2 separate regions of the Homo sapiens genome follow, and region 2 is linked to region 1. Evidence: promoter capture Hi-C in human tissues and cell types (Jung and others, 2019). All regions are on one chromosome and are shown on one strand. The core of a region is centred on a gene start or on the middle of the fragment in contact, and the rest is flanking DNA. Distances in the headings are between cores, read along the strand shown.

What was found. Contacts are between HindIII fragments. The study calls those that stand out against the background at their distance.
Region 2: a fragment that was not itself captured here is called in contact with the fragment with the promoter of NKX3-2 in region 1 in 1 of the 25 tissues and cell types used here (dorsolateral prefrontal cortex).

The regions. Positions count from the first base shown.
Region 1 is chr4:13,542,852-13,547,076 of GRCh38, forward strand. NKX3-2 (NK3 homeobox 2) reads right to left here and starts at 1,657. Exons shown (of 2, transcript NM_001189.4): 1 at 1,098-1,657. The coding sequence starts at 1,563. LINC01096 (long intergenic non-protein coding RNA 1096) reads right to left here. Exons shown (of 1, transcript NR_015450.1): 1 at 3,225-4,225. RefSeq lists an enhancer at 3,783-4,225. The HindIII fragment of the contact is 14,287 bases long and covers 1-4,225 here.
Region 2 is chr4:13,499,304-13,503,666 of GRCh38, forward strand. The region is part of intron 1 of LOC124900669 (a long non-coding RNA gene); the gene reads left to right. Among named protein-coding and RNA genes, the nearest start is that of RAB28, 17 kb to the left of the region's middle. The HindIII fragment of the contact is 4,032 bases long and covers 71-4,102 here.

The DNA of each region.
Region 1 (4,225 bases), core at 407-2,906:
AGCCCTCCCGGCTCTCAGCGTTGAGCATTGGGATTCTAGACTGCATTTCCGTCTCTCTGCTTGGGTTCACGCGCCTCTCCACACTTAGTTCACACGCACACACGCGCGCGTCCTCGCAGCACACACTTGTCTGGTGCAGGTAAGGGAAGGTGGAGGCGGATCCTGGGGCCAAAGGTATTTAGAATCTTTCACCCTCAGCCGCCTGGGATTGCTGTGAGAGACATGGAAACAGGCTGAGCCGAGGCCTTAGATGAGAGGATGGACTGGAGAGTAAAGAGGGAGGGTTGCCCCTGCATCGAGTTTTTGGACCCTGATCCCACACCAGCTTCTCGGTCTCGTACCCGCCCTTCCGAAGAACTCCAGCAGAAAGGTCCAGCGGTCCCCTGTGCTTGAGGCCTACAGAAGCTTGTACCCAACTAGGGCAGGCACCCGGGTCTTCCAGACCACAGGACAGGACAGGCCACGGCTGAGGAGGCCTCTCTCCTGCCTCCAGGATGAACTAAAGACCCAATCCGGGATCTTCGGCCTAGGGCTGCTCTCCCAGACCTGGGGTCTGAGAAAGCCAAACCAGCCCTTTCCCCAAAGCTCTAGTTCTGCAGATTCTCAGCTCTGGCCCACTCGGAGGTGTTCTTCACCACCTATCCACCTACTGTGGGGCCCGGCCCTGGGACCTTGAACTGGCAGGTCTCTGGTCCAGAGCTAGGTCACTGGCTACCTGAGGTCTCTGAACCCCTCACTTTTCCGCTTCCCTGATTTTGGGGATTTGGGGACAGACACGGCAGAAAGCACTGGCGACGAACTCAAAAACTCCCGAACGCAAGGGGCAGCGGTTCTCCCAACCCAGTCTAATGCACATTGGCCCAGGATGTCTCAGGCCTCACCCCAGGACGTAGGGCTCTGAGGAGCTACTCCGGTCTCTCGCGGGCTCAGTTCCCGAAGTGATAGAGCAGCTCGCGCCAGAGCGCAGAACTTCGGGATTTGGCCAGCCTCCGAGCCCCAGGGCGCAGGGTGCTCAAGCCGACCACCCCACTCGGCGTGGTTGCCCTCCGCGTCCATCCCCTCAGCCCGGCCCCCATCCCCGCGAAGCCGCAGCAGACCTGAGACGCTGGCGGACATCTCGCTGTCGCTCCGGCCCGCGGCTTCCTCCTCTAGGTCTTTGGAAGCGGCCAGCTCACAGACCGGCTGGCCGAGGCTCAAGGATCCCCCCGCAAGGCCGGCCCCGCTGGCCCCCCGCGCGTCCGCGCAGCGCCGCCTGCTCTCGTTCTCCTCGCTGAGCGCGGAGTCCGAGTCCCAGCCTTCCGGGCTCTCCGCAGTCCGCCCCGCAGCTGTTCTGGTACCGGCAGGAGACGCCAGCAGAGAGTCCTCGGCGCCCCCCAACGCGCCCGCGTCCCTCTCCCCAAAGAGCCGCCAACAGCAGACAGCGGGAGCCGCGGCCACCGATGCCGCTGTGCCCCCGGGCGCCGGGCGCCCCTCTGGCGCGGCCAGCCCGCCGCGCTCCTCTTTCTTGTTGAGGATCGCCTGGATGGAGAAGGACGTCAAGGTGTTGGCGCCGCGCACAGCCATCTGCGCCGCGGGCAGGAGCGGCCGGCGGGGCGGGCAGCTGGGGCGCCGAGCAGCTCCGAGCGGGACAGAGAGCGCCGGCGGCCGCAGCGCGAGTGAGCTGGGTGTGCGAGGCCGCCGCCGCCCACTGCTGCGCGGCCCAGCAGCTCCCGCCCCACTCCGTCCCAGGATCAGCGCCGACCCTCGCCCCCACCTTAGAGGCCCACCCCGCCCGGAGACCCCCTCCCCCCGAATCCAGAGCCAGACGCTCTCCTTTCGCAGCTCAGCTGGATTATCTCATCGCTTCTCGCCCTTAGGGGCGGGCTGGGGTCTGCCCCCTCGGGGGACGTGAAGGAGGATTGGCGGGGGCCCCTCCGTGGCAGCAGTCCCCTCCCGAGCGCCGCCGGGGCGCACAGCCCGAGTCACTTTTTCTTTGCGCGTCTGTCCCTTCCTCGCCTGCAGGATTTCGCTCCTGGCCCGTCCTCCCCTTCCCTGCTGGGCAGGCTCTTCCGGAGCCCACCCCCGGCGGCGGCGGCGGTAGCCGCGGCCGCGGCCGCTGGATTCCGAGAGGCGCGGGGAACTTTTTTACCCCCTGCCCTGGTTTTATCTGTTTCTTTTCTCTTTCCTTCCCTTGCGTTCCACTGTACCACCCCCCTCCCGCCCGGGTGTCATTCCTCACTGCTGAGTGACAGCCTGAGGCCACACCCCTCCACTGGGCTGTCCCGGGCGCTCCCGGCCGTCCATTGGCTGGCTCCAGTTGGGCGACGTTGACTTTAACAGACAAAACTGGGCACGTTGCGCCGCTAAAGACAGGGTCTGACTTAACCCCTTCTCTCCTAAGCCTGGTCCTCGAAGCACCCTCCAGCAACAAGGAGGCTCATCCGACCCAAACCACGTTTCTTACCTCTGCAGATGTATCCACTTATTCCAGCGCTTTAACAGAACACTGATACTAAGTTGAGTCAAATCTGCGGAGAAAATCCAAGATAATGCAGTTCCATAAATCATGCTCGTAGTTTCTGTTCTCTAGGAAGGATTATAAACACGAAGAACAAAATGCATCCTTTTTTTTCTCCCTACAGTTTCGCCGCTTCTTCATTGCTAATGCTCTTTGCTGAAATGATCAGTTAATTAAGATCACTCTAGAAATATTTTTCTTTCCTCGTCGTCTTTGATTTGATTCGATTTTTATAGAGGAATTATAAAAAAATGGTATAGTTAGAACTAAAGTCAGGAGAAGAATTGAAAGGCATCTTTGGGAGAATTTCTGTAAATTTTATGGTCGTTTCCCTGGCAGACCAATATTGAATTTAATTGGAGTTTGTTAAGTTTTGCATCAGGAAGAAAAAAAAAACTTTCAATTTGTTTTTTTTAAATATCTCTTACTTGTGAGTTGAATAAAATTATAAATAGATATGTTTGTTTGCTTAGAAGTATACCTAGGAATTACCATAAAGTGATCCAGAAGTGACAACACTTTTTGCTCTTTAAAAAATAAGAAATGCATTGTATTATGTAATAGTAGGAACCAAGCTAAGAAACACAAATATTGTGGGTATATAAAAACATTTTAAAATGTGTTATTCCTTTTTTAATATAAAATTTGCTCAATTAACGTACTTCACTGTTTTCCATAAACTTTACCAGAGAGTTAACACCAAATACACAAACTTGAACCATTAAATACATTTAAAGGACTATGATTTTAATTTATTAAATTGCTAGGATTGGTAGTTTTGGTGTCATTAAAATAAATAACATCTCCCCTTGTTGCTTTCTTTTTGGTTGTTCTTTTTCTGCACCGCAGAAGGAAATACACTGACTATTCATAGTTCTCAGTCTCAGAATGAGGTTTTGCAGCATCTATACTTTTCAGCATTTCGGTTACATGATGCTTTCTTGCTTTGTGCAAACCTTGTAGGGTACCTGGGAAAAAACATCCACTTGAGGTCATTGCCCTTTACAGCTCTTTACAATTACATCAGTTTTGAAGGAACGCCATTTAAATTTGGTGTCAGTGCTCAGCAAGTGTAAGGACGCAGAGTGGAACAGCAGAATGCTTACAGTCTTTCAAAAACAGTGTGTCCTCTCCTCCCCCGCTGTATTATTTAAATTACCGTTCTCCTCACTTCGGGCAGGGATGTTGGGAATTATGTATAGTGAGGAGATTGACACTGGTTGCCTGGAAGGTAGGGGACGGGCAGGTATGGGTTTGGTGTCCCGTACAGCGATCGCTTTGTGGGTTTAGTACTTGGTGCTGACAAATAATGGAGTGAGATCCGAACATAAAGGCAGGCAGAGATGTTTTGGGGCTGAATCACCGAATACTAGAGTAGGTTTGGGGCTACGTAAAGACTTGCTTGAAAACAACTACCATTTAGTTGCGAATCCCTCCCCTCTTCCCTTTGATTCGATGTTTAAAAAGAATCCCAAATCACAGTTGGACATACTCCTGCCACAGCCTTGGGCAGAAGTCTTCAAAGCATGAAAAGATGTGGTTTGGCGACTTTGAGTTGTCGGGTATTTTTGTGTCCCAGGAGTGTGAGAAAGGGGCTACGTTCCGCGTCTTCCGGAGGCGCACAGCAAGGGAGTCTCCTGGTGTCATCTCGGGCCATTACGGCGCTTAGTCGATCATTAGGTCTGTGGGTGACTGTAGGCAGAGCCGGGAGTTGGGTGCTTGGCGCGG
Region 2 (4,363 bases), core at 837-3,336, 43 kb before region 1:
GAAGTTTTTGCAATTCTGCAAACTGTATACAAGCTCTAAGTTCTTCTCAACACTAAACCAAAAACTTTTTCAAACTAAACCTCTGTTGCTGTTTTAAATGAAACTTTTAGAAATGAAAATTATAATCATTGAAATTAAAATCTTAGTGACTGGATTAAGTAGTAGATTTGAAACAGCTCAGTAACTGGAAAATAAATATGATGAAATTACCCAGAATGTACCACAGATGTATCAGGATATTTTTTAAAAATGGGAGAGACATTGAAAAACATGGAGAATAACCTGGGAAGGTGTAACATGTAACTACAGTTGAAGAAAGAGAAGAGAGAAAGGATATGGAAGAGGTAATATGCTGAAATGTAAAGACTAAGGATTTTCTAGAATTAATGAAAGACATTAAATGCACATAAGCAAAACACAATATTCTAAGCAGAATAATAGAAAGTGACACCTGAATTCATTGTATTAACATTCCATAACCTACCAAAATGTGAAAAAAAAGTTTTTAGGTTATATCCTGTATATGCTAGTCACAGATTAAATCCTCTATATGCTAATCATAAATTAATCTATTTTTCTTGTAACCAGGAAAATACAAAATAATAACATATGTCATAATGATACATTTAATTGCAATTTTAAAGCATTTGTTGTTTTTCTTATAGGTGTGTACGTGCATGCACGTGTGTGTATGTGTGTGTGTATGTTTCTCTCTGTATCAGGCCAATTCATTACTTGCTGGAAGTCATACCACAAAGCATTTTTGCCAACTATTTATGTTCTTTCCTTACTTAGGTAAAGTAAATCCCATACTTTCTCAGTAGGGTTAAGGTCAAGACTCTGAGGGGAGCCACTCCTTCCTAATTAGTTCCCCAGACTCCTCTTTTTTTCCCCCTTTAAATGGCCACAACAGTCTAGAAAAATGTTTGGAGTCATAATCCCCCTGATAAATGAATCCCTGATCAAGCAGCTGGTTTCCAGAAGGGACTCCTTGCTGTGCTGCAATTATGTTGAAGCTGAACTCCAGTAGTTCAGGTCATGGCTGAAGTACTGAAGGGAAAAATACCTATCTCAGAGCTCCACTGTATGACACAGTAAGCTACAAGACTCCTGCTTCTCCTCTCCAAAGCCCTCACCCAAAGATCAATATTCTTCTTAGTTAATGAGAAAAATACTTAATGATGTGAATGCACGTGCAGGTCCTTGACTGGTGACCCACGCAGGGGAGATTCATGCCTTCAGAGTGTACTGGCAATTTAAAACCCATCCTAGAAAGCTTGAAAATGATTTTCTATTTATTCGATAATATACTTAATTTTTCAGTTACTAAATAGTTATCTATTAACAGTGGAGCCACATTATTTGAGATTTCGCAGGTAAAAGGTATAAAGGAAAATATTTATAAATACCAAGTTATATATCATACTAAGAGTTAGGAAAAGTCACATCTTAAATATTAGAAATGAAACGGCTCTTTAAAACACACAGAGGAACATATACAGAATTTTTCACCTGAGGACTGCCTGATTGTATAGATTTTCAGATACCTTTCCATAAATCTTACAGACTTATTTTCCCTCCCTGATTCTGCTAGGATAATAAAAATGTCCTGTTCGTGTTCCACGTCAATGGGCTCAGTCCTTCCTCATTTAATACTGTCAATAATGTTAGGTCAAATATGAAGTTGATTTGTGTTTATGCGGAGACGATGTTAACTTCTCTACTTTAAGTATTTCTAACTAAACATACCCTTCCATGAGATCACTATGTGTCCTCCTTTACCTTAATTTCAGAAAAAGAATTCAAATCATTCCAGAAAAAAAAAGAGATGTTTTAGAAGGCAATGAGACTCTTATTGTATGAAAAGAGATGACAATCACCCCTATGCAAAGTTAAAGGATGACAGACTATAGAAGAGGTTTACAACATGTAAAATAGAAAAAGAATCAATAATCAGAATAAAGAATGCCAACTTCACTAGGCTTTCGTAAGGCTGCCACAACAAATTACCACAAATTGAGTGGCTTAAAACAACAGAAATCAATTCTCTTACAGTTCTGGAGGTAGTAAGTCCCAAATCAAGCTGTCGAAGGCTCCAGGGGAAAGCACCCCTTGGCTTGTGGCTACATCATTCCAGTCTCTGTCTCCATCTGCACTTGACCTTCTCCTCCATCTGCCCTATGTTCTTCCTTTGTGTGTCTCTTGGAAGGACACTTGTTGGATTTACAGCCCACCTAGATAATATAGGATGATCTTATCTTGAGATTCTTAACTGAATCACTTCTGCAAAGACGCATTTTCAAATAAGATCACATTATAGGTTCCAGAGGTTAGAACATGAGTATATCTTTGTGGGGTTGGGTCCTAATTCAACACAATACGCCTATCAGATTTTTAGTTAAAAGCTTATAGAAGCTTTTAATTTGAGGCAATCTCCTCTACTATGAACATGTAATATTAAATAGAGAAAGTATAAAAACAATTCAAGATGCAAATCATAGTGAATCAGAAGATTAAAGCAGTAAATATCCGGGCGCGGTGGCTCACGCCTGTAATCCCAGCACTTTGGGAGGCTGAGGTGGGTTGATTGCCTGAGGTCAAGAGTTCAAGACCAGCCTGGCCAGCATAGTGAAACCCTGTCTCTACTAATTTCACAAAAATTAGCCGGGCGTGGTGGTGGGCACCTGTAATCCCAGCTACTCTGGAGGCTGAGGTGGGAGAATTGCTTGAACCCGGGAGATGGAGGTTGCAGTGAGCTGAGATTACGCCACTTCACTCCAGCCTGGGCGACAGAGCAAAACTCAGTCTCAAAAAAAAAAAAAAAAAGCAATAAATAAAACTGAAACTATGGGTGCAAATGACTTCAGGTCTTCTTGAAAAGACAAATGAATTTAACTCAATATTACAGGGACCAATAATAACTATAGAACAGTGCTGTATAAATGTTGGGCATCCTTGTATCATCTCACTGTCGGAGGGAAGGTTTTCAACATTAAAACATTTTCTTTCTAATCCTAATTCTAAATAAATACTAAATGTTATCAAACTTTTTTAGTGAGGATTTTTCCTATTAATGTTGTTTAGTACATTGAGTTAATAATTTCTGAAATAAATTCTATCTATTCATTAAAAAAAATTACAGAGACCTAAAGTGCATTCAACAAAAGTCTGTATTCACTCATGATTTTAAAAAATAATAACTTCTTGAAAATGAAGAATAGAAGGAAACTTCCTTAATCTGATTTTTAAAAATAACTCGCAAAAGCCTCTGTAAACATCACGCTAAATGGGAAAACTTTTGAAGCATTTCTAAATTGGGAATAAATAAGCAAGTTTGCTTGCTATTATCTTCTGTATTCACCACCATATAGGGAAGAAACGTTGCAAAGGAAAAGACAACACTGTCTCTGTGATGATATGATCACCATGATAGAAAAGACAAGCAAATCTCTTAATAAACTCATAGACCTAAAAAGAGTTCATTAAGCTTGCTGGATACAAGATCAACATACAAAAATTAGTGATATTTCTAAACACCAGCTACACCAGCGAAAGCAACCAGAAAGTATAAAGAAAAACGGTATCATTCACAAACACAAAAACTGTAAGGTAATGAGAAACAAAAGATGTTCAAAAACATTGTGGACATAGCTGGGCATGGTGGCACATGCCTGTAGTCCCAGCTACTTGGGAGGCTGAGGCAGGAGGATCATTTGAACCCAAGAGTTAGAGATTGAAGTGAACTGTGATTGCACCACTGCTCTCTAGCCCAAGCAACAGGGCAAGACCTTGTCACAAAAAAAAAAAAAAAAATTTATTATGGTGAAATAGTCCCAATTCTATATAAAGTCACATAAATTCAATTGCAATTGAGATTGTAATCTTGTTTTAATGTGGTACTGAAAAAAATGATCCCAAATTTTGGTTGTCAAATAATTTTGAAAAAGAAGAAGACGGCCTGCAGACAGTATAGAGGTAAAGGCATCAGTAGAACAGAGTAGAAACCCAGAAAGACTCAGACATACATGATAATTTAGTATTTCAATTCAGTGAGGAAAGGATTAAGTATTTAGTAAACGGTACTTGGACTAATGGATATCTATAGGGAAAAAAATAAAGTTTCTATCTCACAGTGTAAATAAAAATATTTTACAAATGAGAAAATCAAAACTTTGTAATATTTTAGATGACAATAAAGAATATATAACTTGGAGTAGAGAAGGAAGTCTTAAGACATACAAACAAAACTATGAAGAAAGGGTACGTTTAGTTAGAAATACTTAAATACTTTAACATATGCCTATGTTAAAATTAAAAAAACACTTTAGTTCAATTTTTAAAAGCACCGTAAACAAAGTTAAAA